2 separate regions of the Homo sapiens genome follow, and region 2 is linked to region 1. Evidence: promoter capture Hi-C in human tissues and cell types (Jung and others, 2019). All regions are on one chromosome and are shown on one strand. The core of a region is centred on a gene start or on the middle of the fragment in contact, and the rest is flanking DNA. Distances in the headings are between cores, read along the strand shown. Region 1 holds the start of SERPINC1 (serpin family C member 1). Region 2 overlaps RC3H1 (ring finger and CCCH-type domains 1).

The links. The method cuts DNA at HindIII sites, captures the fragments that hold promoters and counts their contacts. A contact is called where the count stands out against the background at its distance.
Region 2: a contact is called between a fragment that was not itself captured here and the fragment with the promoter of SERPINC1 in region 1, in 1 of the 25 tissues and cell types used here (bladder).

The regions. Positions count from the first base shown.
Region 1 is chr1:173,915,576-173,919,819 of GRCh38, reverse strand. SERPINC1 (serpin family C member 1) reads left to right here and starts at 2,493. Exons shown (of 7, transcript NM_000488.4): 1 at 2,493-2,601. The coding sequence starts at 2,561. LOC124904457 (a long non-coding RNA gene) reads right to left here and starts at 3,320. Exons shown (of 2, transcript XR_007066739.1): 1 at 2,880-3,320. The HindIII fragment of the contact is 9,559 bases long and covers 1-4,244 here.
Region 2 is chr1:173,969,405-173,973,648 of GRCh38, reverse strand. RC3H1 (ring finger and CCCH-type domains 1) reads left to right here. Exons shown (of 20, transcript NM_172071.4): 8 at 1,022-1,140; 9 at 3,032-3,144. It also overlaps the pseudogene RNA5SP68. Among named protein-coding and RNA genes, the nearest start is that of RC3H1, 51 kb to the left of the region's middle. The HindIII fragment of the contact is 3,252 bases long and covers 665-3,916 here.

The DNA of each region.
Region 1 (4,244 bases), core at 1,244-3,743:
CGGGTTCAAGTGATTCTCCTGCCTCAGCCTCCTGAGTAGCTGAGATTACAGGTGCATACCACCATGCCCAGCTAATTTTTTTTTTATTTTTTAGTAGAGACAGGGTTTCACTGTCTTGGCCAGGCTGGTCTCAAACCCCTGACCTCAAGTGATCTGCCCACCTCAGCCTCCCAAACTGCTGGGATTACAGGCGTGAGCCACCACGCCTGGCAGAACACTTTTAAAATATATATATAATTTAATTTTTAACATTTGAGACAGGGGCTCACTCTGTCACCAAGGCTGGAGTGCAGTGGTGTGATCACAGCTCACTGCAGTCTGAATTCCTGGGCTCAAGTGATCCTCCCACCTCAGCCTCCTGAGTAGCTGGGACTACAGGCTCATGCCACCATGCCCAGCTTATTATTATTATTTTCTGGAGATGGGGGTCTCACCGTGTGTGGGGTCTCACAGTTGGTCTTGAACTCCTGGCCTCAAGCCTTGGCCTTCCAAAGTGCTAGGATTACAGATGTGAGCCACTGCATCCAGCCTGGATGAACAAATTAAACACAAACCCTGATGTTATAGTTCTTAATTCCTTGACCTGGTAGTATCTGCATCCTAATCTTTTCCAGCGATGTTCACCAAATCACCTATATTTTTGCAGGGCCCCTCATCTGCCCTCCCCCAAGGACCTTCTTGGCAAGACACAAACCTCATAACTCCTATAAGCTGGAACAATAGGTCTCAACAGCATGTTCCTGAAACCTCAAGGTCTTTGTATTTCTGATTTCTCTTTGGACAGCTCTTCCTAAAGATATTCATATGGCCCCCTCCATCATTTCATTCTGGTTTCCTAACAATGATTCCTAAGGGAGGCCTTTCCTACCAAGTGTTCTCAGATGGTGCCCTCCCCACTTCCTCCCACTGCTTCCTATATCCTTGCCCTGCTATAGTTTTCTCTATGGACCTTATTAACATCTGACTGGCACGTTACATATTTATTTTTTAAATACTGATTTTTTTTTTTTGAGATGGAGTCTTGCTCTGTCACCCAGGCTGGAGTGCAATAGCACGATCTCGGCTCACTGCAACCTCTGCCTCCTGGGGTCAAGTGATTCTCCTGCCTCAGCCTCCTGAGTAGCTGGAATTACAGGTGCCCACCACCATGCCCAGCTATTTTTTGTATTTTTAGTAGAGATGGGGTTTCACCAGGTTGGCTAGGCCGGTCTCGAACTCCTGACCTCAGGTGATCCACCTGCCTCAGCCTACCAAAGTGCTGGGATTACAGGTGTGAGCCACCACGCTTGGCCTAAAATACTGATTCTTTATGTGATTGCTGTATGTCTCCCCCGAATGGAATCCCAGCCCCAAGAACAGTGTCTGCTGGCACAAGCAGCACTCGTGTATTTGTTGAACTCAAGTGGTTGAACAGGAGACTTTTCAATAGTCTTTAATCTAGGGTGACAGATGAGCCTCTGGGCATTCTGGGGCCCTTTGGGACAGTTCTCGGCTACTGTTCACACTGCACATGGAGGGCTTCAAAGGATCCAGGGTCTGAATCAGCCAAGAACTTAGACACAGCTTCAGTTCAGGAGAGATGTCCTCTCTCATGAACGAAGAGCTCTCGAAAATGCCTATGACTGCAACAACAACTACAAGGAGTCCTTGATCACACAGCAGGAGGCACATGCGCCCTGTGAACTTGGTGGCTGCAGTCCTTGTGATGGTGCTTTTGGCTATTTCAGAAGAGGGAAATGTAAACAAACCTGCCCTTTATCTCCACTAGTTTGAATTTACCCAATCTCCCCAATAACTAATAAAAATAACGATACACATAAATATAATTTAGTTTGTTTTTATTTCAGCAGTTGTACGTGGGTTTTTCACCTGCCCCGCATTCTGTCTCCTGATCCCCCAGTAGAGTTTTGCTAAGTATTTCCCAGCTGCTCACACCCCTTAGAAACGCGCTTGGCATGCACCCCGAGGCCCTGCTCTTCTCTCCCTGTCCCACCACTTCAGGGCTGCTGGGGAATGGGTCTCTCTGTGGGCCACAGGTGTAACCATTGTGTTTTCCTTGTCTGTGCCAGGGACACCTTGGCACTCAGATGCCTGAAGGTAGCAGCTTGTCCCTCTTTGCCTTCTCTAATTAGATATTTCTCTCTCTCTCTCCCTCTCTCCATAAAGAAAACTATGAGAGAGGGTGGGTATGAACCAAGTTTGTTTCCTTGGTTAGTTTCCTAACCAAGTTTGAGGGTATGAACATACTCTCCTTTTCCTTTTCTATAAAGCTGAGGAGAAGAGTGAGGGAGTGTGGGCAAGAGAGGTGGCTCAGGCTTTCCCTGGGCCTGATTGAACTTTAAAACTTCTCTACTAATTAAACAACACTGGGCTCTACACTTTGCTTAACCCTGGGAACTGGTCATCAGCCTTTGACCTCAGTTCCCCCTCCTGACCAGCTCTCTGCCCCACCCTGTCCTCTGGAACCTCTGCGAGATTTAGAGGAAAGAACCAGTTTTCAGGCGGATTGCCTCAGATCACACTATCTCCACTTGCCCAGCCCTGTGGAAGATTAGCGGCCATGTATTCCAATGTGATAGGAACTGTAACCTCTGGAAAAAGGTAAGAGGGGTGAGCTTTCCCCTTGCCTGCCCCTACTGGGTTTTGTGACCTCCAAAGGACTCACAGGAATGACCTCCAACACCTTTGAGAAGACCAGGCCCTCTCCCTGGTAGTTACAGTCAAAGACCTGTTTGGAAGACGTCATTTCAAGTGCTCTCCCTCCCACCCCACCTCTTGGGGTAAGGCCTTTCCTAAGCTACCCCTTGGGTCCCTAGCCTAAGAAACAAGGGGGATGTCATCCCTGGTGTAAAGATGCTGTGCAGGAAGTCAGCACTCACGGGATCCAGGGGACGCTCCAAGGGGAATCCCCAGGGCCTGCCATCCATCCGGGAAGAGAGCAAATGCTACCCATGAGGACCTCCTCACTCCCTTTTTGCTCTTTCTTCCACTCAGATCCACCCCACTCCACCCCCACCCAAATCCCAGTGACCTTTGACTAAAGGGCCAAAACTGCTTCCTTTTCTCACAATGAGAGTTGTCCCTCCCTCAATGCCACACACACTCCCTTCTTCATCTGAGTTGTCACAGGAGGCTAGAAACGGGGTGGTGGCACAACTGTCTTGGTTTTAATTTGTGCTTCATAGCCCTCCCAGGGTCCTCTCAGCCTCAAATTGCATTTCCAAATGTAGTTGAAGGACAGAGTGGGCAACCGAAGGCAGTGGAGATGGGAAGATGAATGGCAGGGTCCTCTCCTCTCTCTCTCTGCTTCTTCAGCCTGCCTTCCACATCTCCCTTGGTGCCGCTGCTTCTCTCCGGCTTTGCACCTCTGTTCTTGAAAGGGCTGCAGAACTGGACTCAGACCACGCAAGAAGGCAAGTCCCCCTCAGCTGCCCCAGCTTCCAGCCAGCCCCAGGCTTGCCCAACGGACCACGTCCGTGAATCTGCACTGGGTGCCTGTCTTTCTCTCCCAGGAGAAGATGGGAAGATCCAGTACCCACACACAGACCCCCTTGTGTACACGCAGGAACCATAAACCAGCTGGAGGCAGCCCCTGCCCCACCCTGTCTTATCTACAAAAAATATTACAAGAGACTTTATCTCTTGATTTGCTTCATCGAGTGTCCCAACTACCTCATTTTTTTAAAATGTGAAATTAGCTTCATTTACCTTCATTGAATCCATGTTGGCGACTATTAAAAATTCCAGGCAATAAAAAGGGATGAGAGCCTGAACTAAAGCAGTGGCAATAACTGGTGAAAGAGTAAAAAAACAGAACTGATTGACTCTGGGGTGAACTGATTGACTCTGGGGTTTGACTAAATGAGGAGGAGAGAGGGAGGAATCCAGGGTGATTCTCAGGTTTCTGTACGGGATTCACTGAGCCCACTCACAGGAGCAGGCCTGTGGGGGAGAATTAATTACCAGTTCAGTTTGGTCCTGTTTCCCTGAAGAACTTGTAGGAGTTCCTGGTGGAACTGTCCAGCAAATAGTCAGTCTGGAGCTCAGTGGAAGGGTTAGGGCTGGAGCTAGAGATGTAGGAATCTTCAGCACACAGATATTGCCATTGTTTTTGTTTGTTTGTTTGTTTGTTGTTGCTGTTTTGAGACACAGTCTCACTTTGTCACCCAGGTTGGAGTGCAGTGGCACAATCTCAGCTCACTGCAACCTTCGCCTCCTGGGTTCAAGTGATTCTTCTGCCTCAG
Region 2 (4,244 bases), core at 1,041-3,540, 54 kb before region 1:
TTCTTTTATAAATCATAGTGCTGGCACTGGGCAAATACCTACTAAATGAAGAAAACATGTAGCAGAGTTACTTTATATGATAGTTCTTCTATTAAACTTTTTTTTTTTTTTTTTGAGATGGAGTTTCTCTCTGTCACCAGGATGGAGTGCAGTGGTGCAATCTCGGCTCACTGCAACCTCCGCCTCCCGGGTTCAAGCGATTCTCCTGCCTCAGCCTCCTAAGTTGCTGGGACTATAGGCGCGTGCCACCATGCCTGGGTAATTTTTGTATTTTTAGTGGAGACGGGGTTTCACAATGCTGGCCAGGATGGTCTCCATCTCTTGATCTTGTGATCTGCCCACCTCGGCCTGCGAAAGTGCTGAGATTACAGGCCTGAGCCACTGTGCCCGGCTTATTAAACTTTTTAAGCTTTTTGTTTACCAAAACTTTATTTATATAAAAGTTCAAAATAAACATGCAAATTGACTAACTGTAGACAGTCCTCAGTTTTGTTTAATCCACACAGTGTTGGTCTGAGCAATGGTCTAAATTTCTTAGATGCCAATATTTTAAAACTGGGAAATTTTTACTTAAAAATCTCAAGTTTCAGGTTTCCCTGGGAAACAGTGAATGTATCTGGCAGTGCCAGCCTTGCATCATCACATAACAACAATCATCTAAAGCTGAGTTATAACCATACTCTTAGATGAGGGACATGCTCCCCAGTTCAGCAGTCCCTGTCACTCGTTGTTGTCTCCTCAACACTGAGAGTCTAATGACAGTTACCACTATTGTGTGGCCTATTTACCTCTTTCATGTTACCTTTCTTGTTCCTATGGTTATTTCAGTTTGCAACCCCAGCTTTGAAAGAATATGTCCATTCCTTTAAAATGATGGTTAGGTGAATAAGCTATTATCTAAAAAGCTAAGGTGTGAAGCTTGATTTCACTGAAATGTTTTCAAGTAACTCTTTTATTAATTTGATATTAGGGAAAATTTTGAGTAACATTAGAGTTTAAAACATTATCATTGGTTGTATAGATGCTCCTCCTCCTACTTGGGAACAGCTGGAAAATGGGCTGGTTGCTGTGCGTACAGTGGTACATGGGCTGGTTGATTATATCCAGAACCACAGCAAAAAAGGAGCAGATCAGCAGCAGGTAAGGAAGCTGTTTAAAACTTAGAGTTAACCCACTGTGGATATGCCTTAAAACTATAGGTAAACCACTGTGGGTATACCTACAGATACAAAGCCAAAAAGATAACATGAACATTTTGAGACTCTGAGTATAGAAACTGTAAATTACCTTGGCATGGTTAACAGTTTACTGCATTAGGCTGATAACTTTATCTGACAATATTGACATTAAATAATCCTTATTGATCTGATGTCATGCTGGGGTCAGTCTTCACATTGGATATGGCAGCATTTGATGGAGAAAATGGATTCAGTGCTGAAGTTTATTCCATTTATATAAGATTATTATTCTCTTTAGTTTGTTTAACATTTTGGTTTGACAATAAGTATCACTTTTTAGTGCTAATACTGTGTCTTTCCAATACTGTTCAAATTTCTATAGATTTTCTTATTAATATTTTAAGATTTTTTTCATTCATAATGTCTTATGCCATTGGGCCAAATCTCCCTCAAAGTTTTTAGATGAAAATACGATGGTAGAATATAATAACTTCTTATAGCTAGAGTTTTAAATTTTATTCCCAGTAATTTTATTTTGCTCTCAGGATTTATATTAGGTTCATTAGATCTTTTATTTTGCAGTAGTAAGCCTGTGAACGTAAAACTCTTAATTTACCTGGTTCAGGTAAATATAAATAGGTTACTCAGTATTCCTTTTTGCTTAAGAGGCAAGAAATATAAAAATTATCCTGCTAAGTAAAATAATCTGGATATGATTTTCCTAACCTATCTAACACAGGTCAAAGCTTTATTTATGAATAGGCATAAAAGAAAGGAGAACCTACAGTTTTTAACTCTCTGTTTCATTAGACATCTTGAAGAAAATAACAAGAGTAATGAGACTAACCTTTAAAGTCTGCCATATAGTGATAAAATACACTAAATTTTGTCCAGTTTAGTGTTGTGTCTCATATTTCATTAACTTTCAAATCCATCCTCCTGCCTTATCCTTGAGTTATAAATAATAAGTGTCATTTGTACTTTTGGAACTATTTTAAGTTCTTCATATATTATTCTGCATGTCAAGAAGAATTAGTTACAGAATATTCTTTGATTATAGGGCCTTTTGTAGTTTTTGTGGTATGTTGTATGGAAACATACATATAGCTATATTGAACATTGTACAAAACAAATATTAGAAGATAATTTATATATTTGAAAGTCTTAAACTACAGTGGTTTGTTTTTTCATTATAAAATGTGGAAATGGGCTGGGCACAGTGGCTCACACCTGTAATCCCAAGCACTTTGGGAGGCTGAGGCAGGCGGATCATTTGAGGTCAGGAGTTTGAGACCAGCCTGGCTAACATGATGAAACCCTGTCTCTACTAAAAATACAAAAATTAGCCAGGTGCGGTGGTGGACACCTGTAATCCCAGCTACTCAGGAGGCTGAGGCAGGAGAATCGCTTGAGCCGGGGAGGTGGAAGTTGCAGTGAGCCAAGATTGCGCCGCTGCCCTCCAGCCCGGGCAACAGAGTAAGACTCCTTCTCAAAAAAAAAAAAAAAAAAAGTGGAAATGAGATCATAGTGTCCCCATGAGCTTTTTCTTTTTCCATATAATACAAGTATAAGAATGCCCATGAGATTTATTCAAGAATTTATATTATGCTACTTGTTTGAGAATTAATATCAACATATCAGAAAAATTAGGACTACCTTCTTTGTTTTTGCTTTATTTATATTTGGACTTTGAAACTTCAGACAGAATGACTTTCCAGCACTTTTGCTCTTGGTAATCTAAATAAATATGTGAATTACTTATCTAGATTATCAAGATCCTAAAATGACAACACAAAATTTATGTTTTTTTGTGGGGGGTTATTACACATCTAATGTTTTGATTTTGGTTTTAGCCTCCACAGCATAGCAAATACAAAACATACATGTGTCGAGATATGAAGCAGAGAGGAGGATGCCCTCGTGGGGCCAGCTGTACATTTGCACACTCACAGGAGGAACTGGAAAAGTAAGTGTGAAAGTCAGGAGACTTTGGAATAAGGTGTAAGTGGAATAATTCGCTGACATACAGAAATACAGAAAGAGTAGCTGCTTTATCTTAAATGAATAGGACATTTTTAGAATGTAACACAGCTTGAACATTCCTATTCTGAAAATCTGAAATGCTTCAAAATCCAAAAATGCTTGAAAGCCAACTTGACACCACAAGTTGAAAATTCCACACTTGACCTTGTGATGGATAGCAGTCAAAACTTCATGCACAAAATTATTTAAAATAATGTATAAAATTACTTTCAGACTATGTGTAAAAGATGTATATGAAATATAAATGAATTTCATGTTATATATTTGGGTCTTATCCCCAAGACATCTCCTTATGTATATGCAAATATTCCAAAATCCAAGACAAATCCAAATCTTGAAACACTTCTGGTCTCAAGCATTTCGGGTAAGAGATATTCAACCTGTACATAATTTTTAAAAATGAAAAGCAGTTTCTTCAGCTTTTATTGCATCATGCCTATAGATAGGAAACTATTTTATGATTAGCTAAATCTAAAAGTGGGTCATTTTCACTACAAAAAAAATTAAAATTATAATAATTTTAATCAATTTTAACTTAATTTAACTAATTGCATGATGTATTTCCAGTGGAAAATTTTGCCCTTGGCTCAGTTTAACAGATTCTTTTAAACTTCAAGGACAAGATAATTTCAGGGATGTTAAATTTTTCAGCTCATTGAAGAAAGAAAGGAAAAACCTCTTAATTTTTTTTATTTTTATTTTATTTTATTTTATTTTTTAAAAATAGAGACAGGGTCTCCCTATGTTGCCCAGGCTGGTCTCAAACTCCTGGGCTTAAGGGAGCCTCCTGCCTTGGCCTCCCAAAGTGCTAGGATTACAGGCAGGAGCCACCACACCCACCGCCTCTTAATTTATTTATAAATCCAATGTAACACTTTCATTAAATTTGACAAAGATAACACAATTAAAACTGCAAATCTACTGCAAGTATTAATATTAAAAATCTCAAAAATTTAAATATAATTCAGTAATACATTACAATAGATGCCATGTCTAAGGGCATAACACCCTGAATCCACCTGA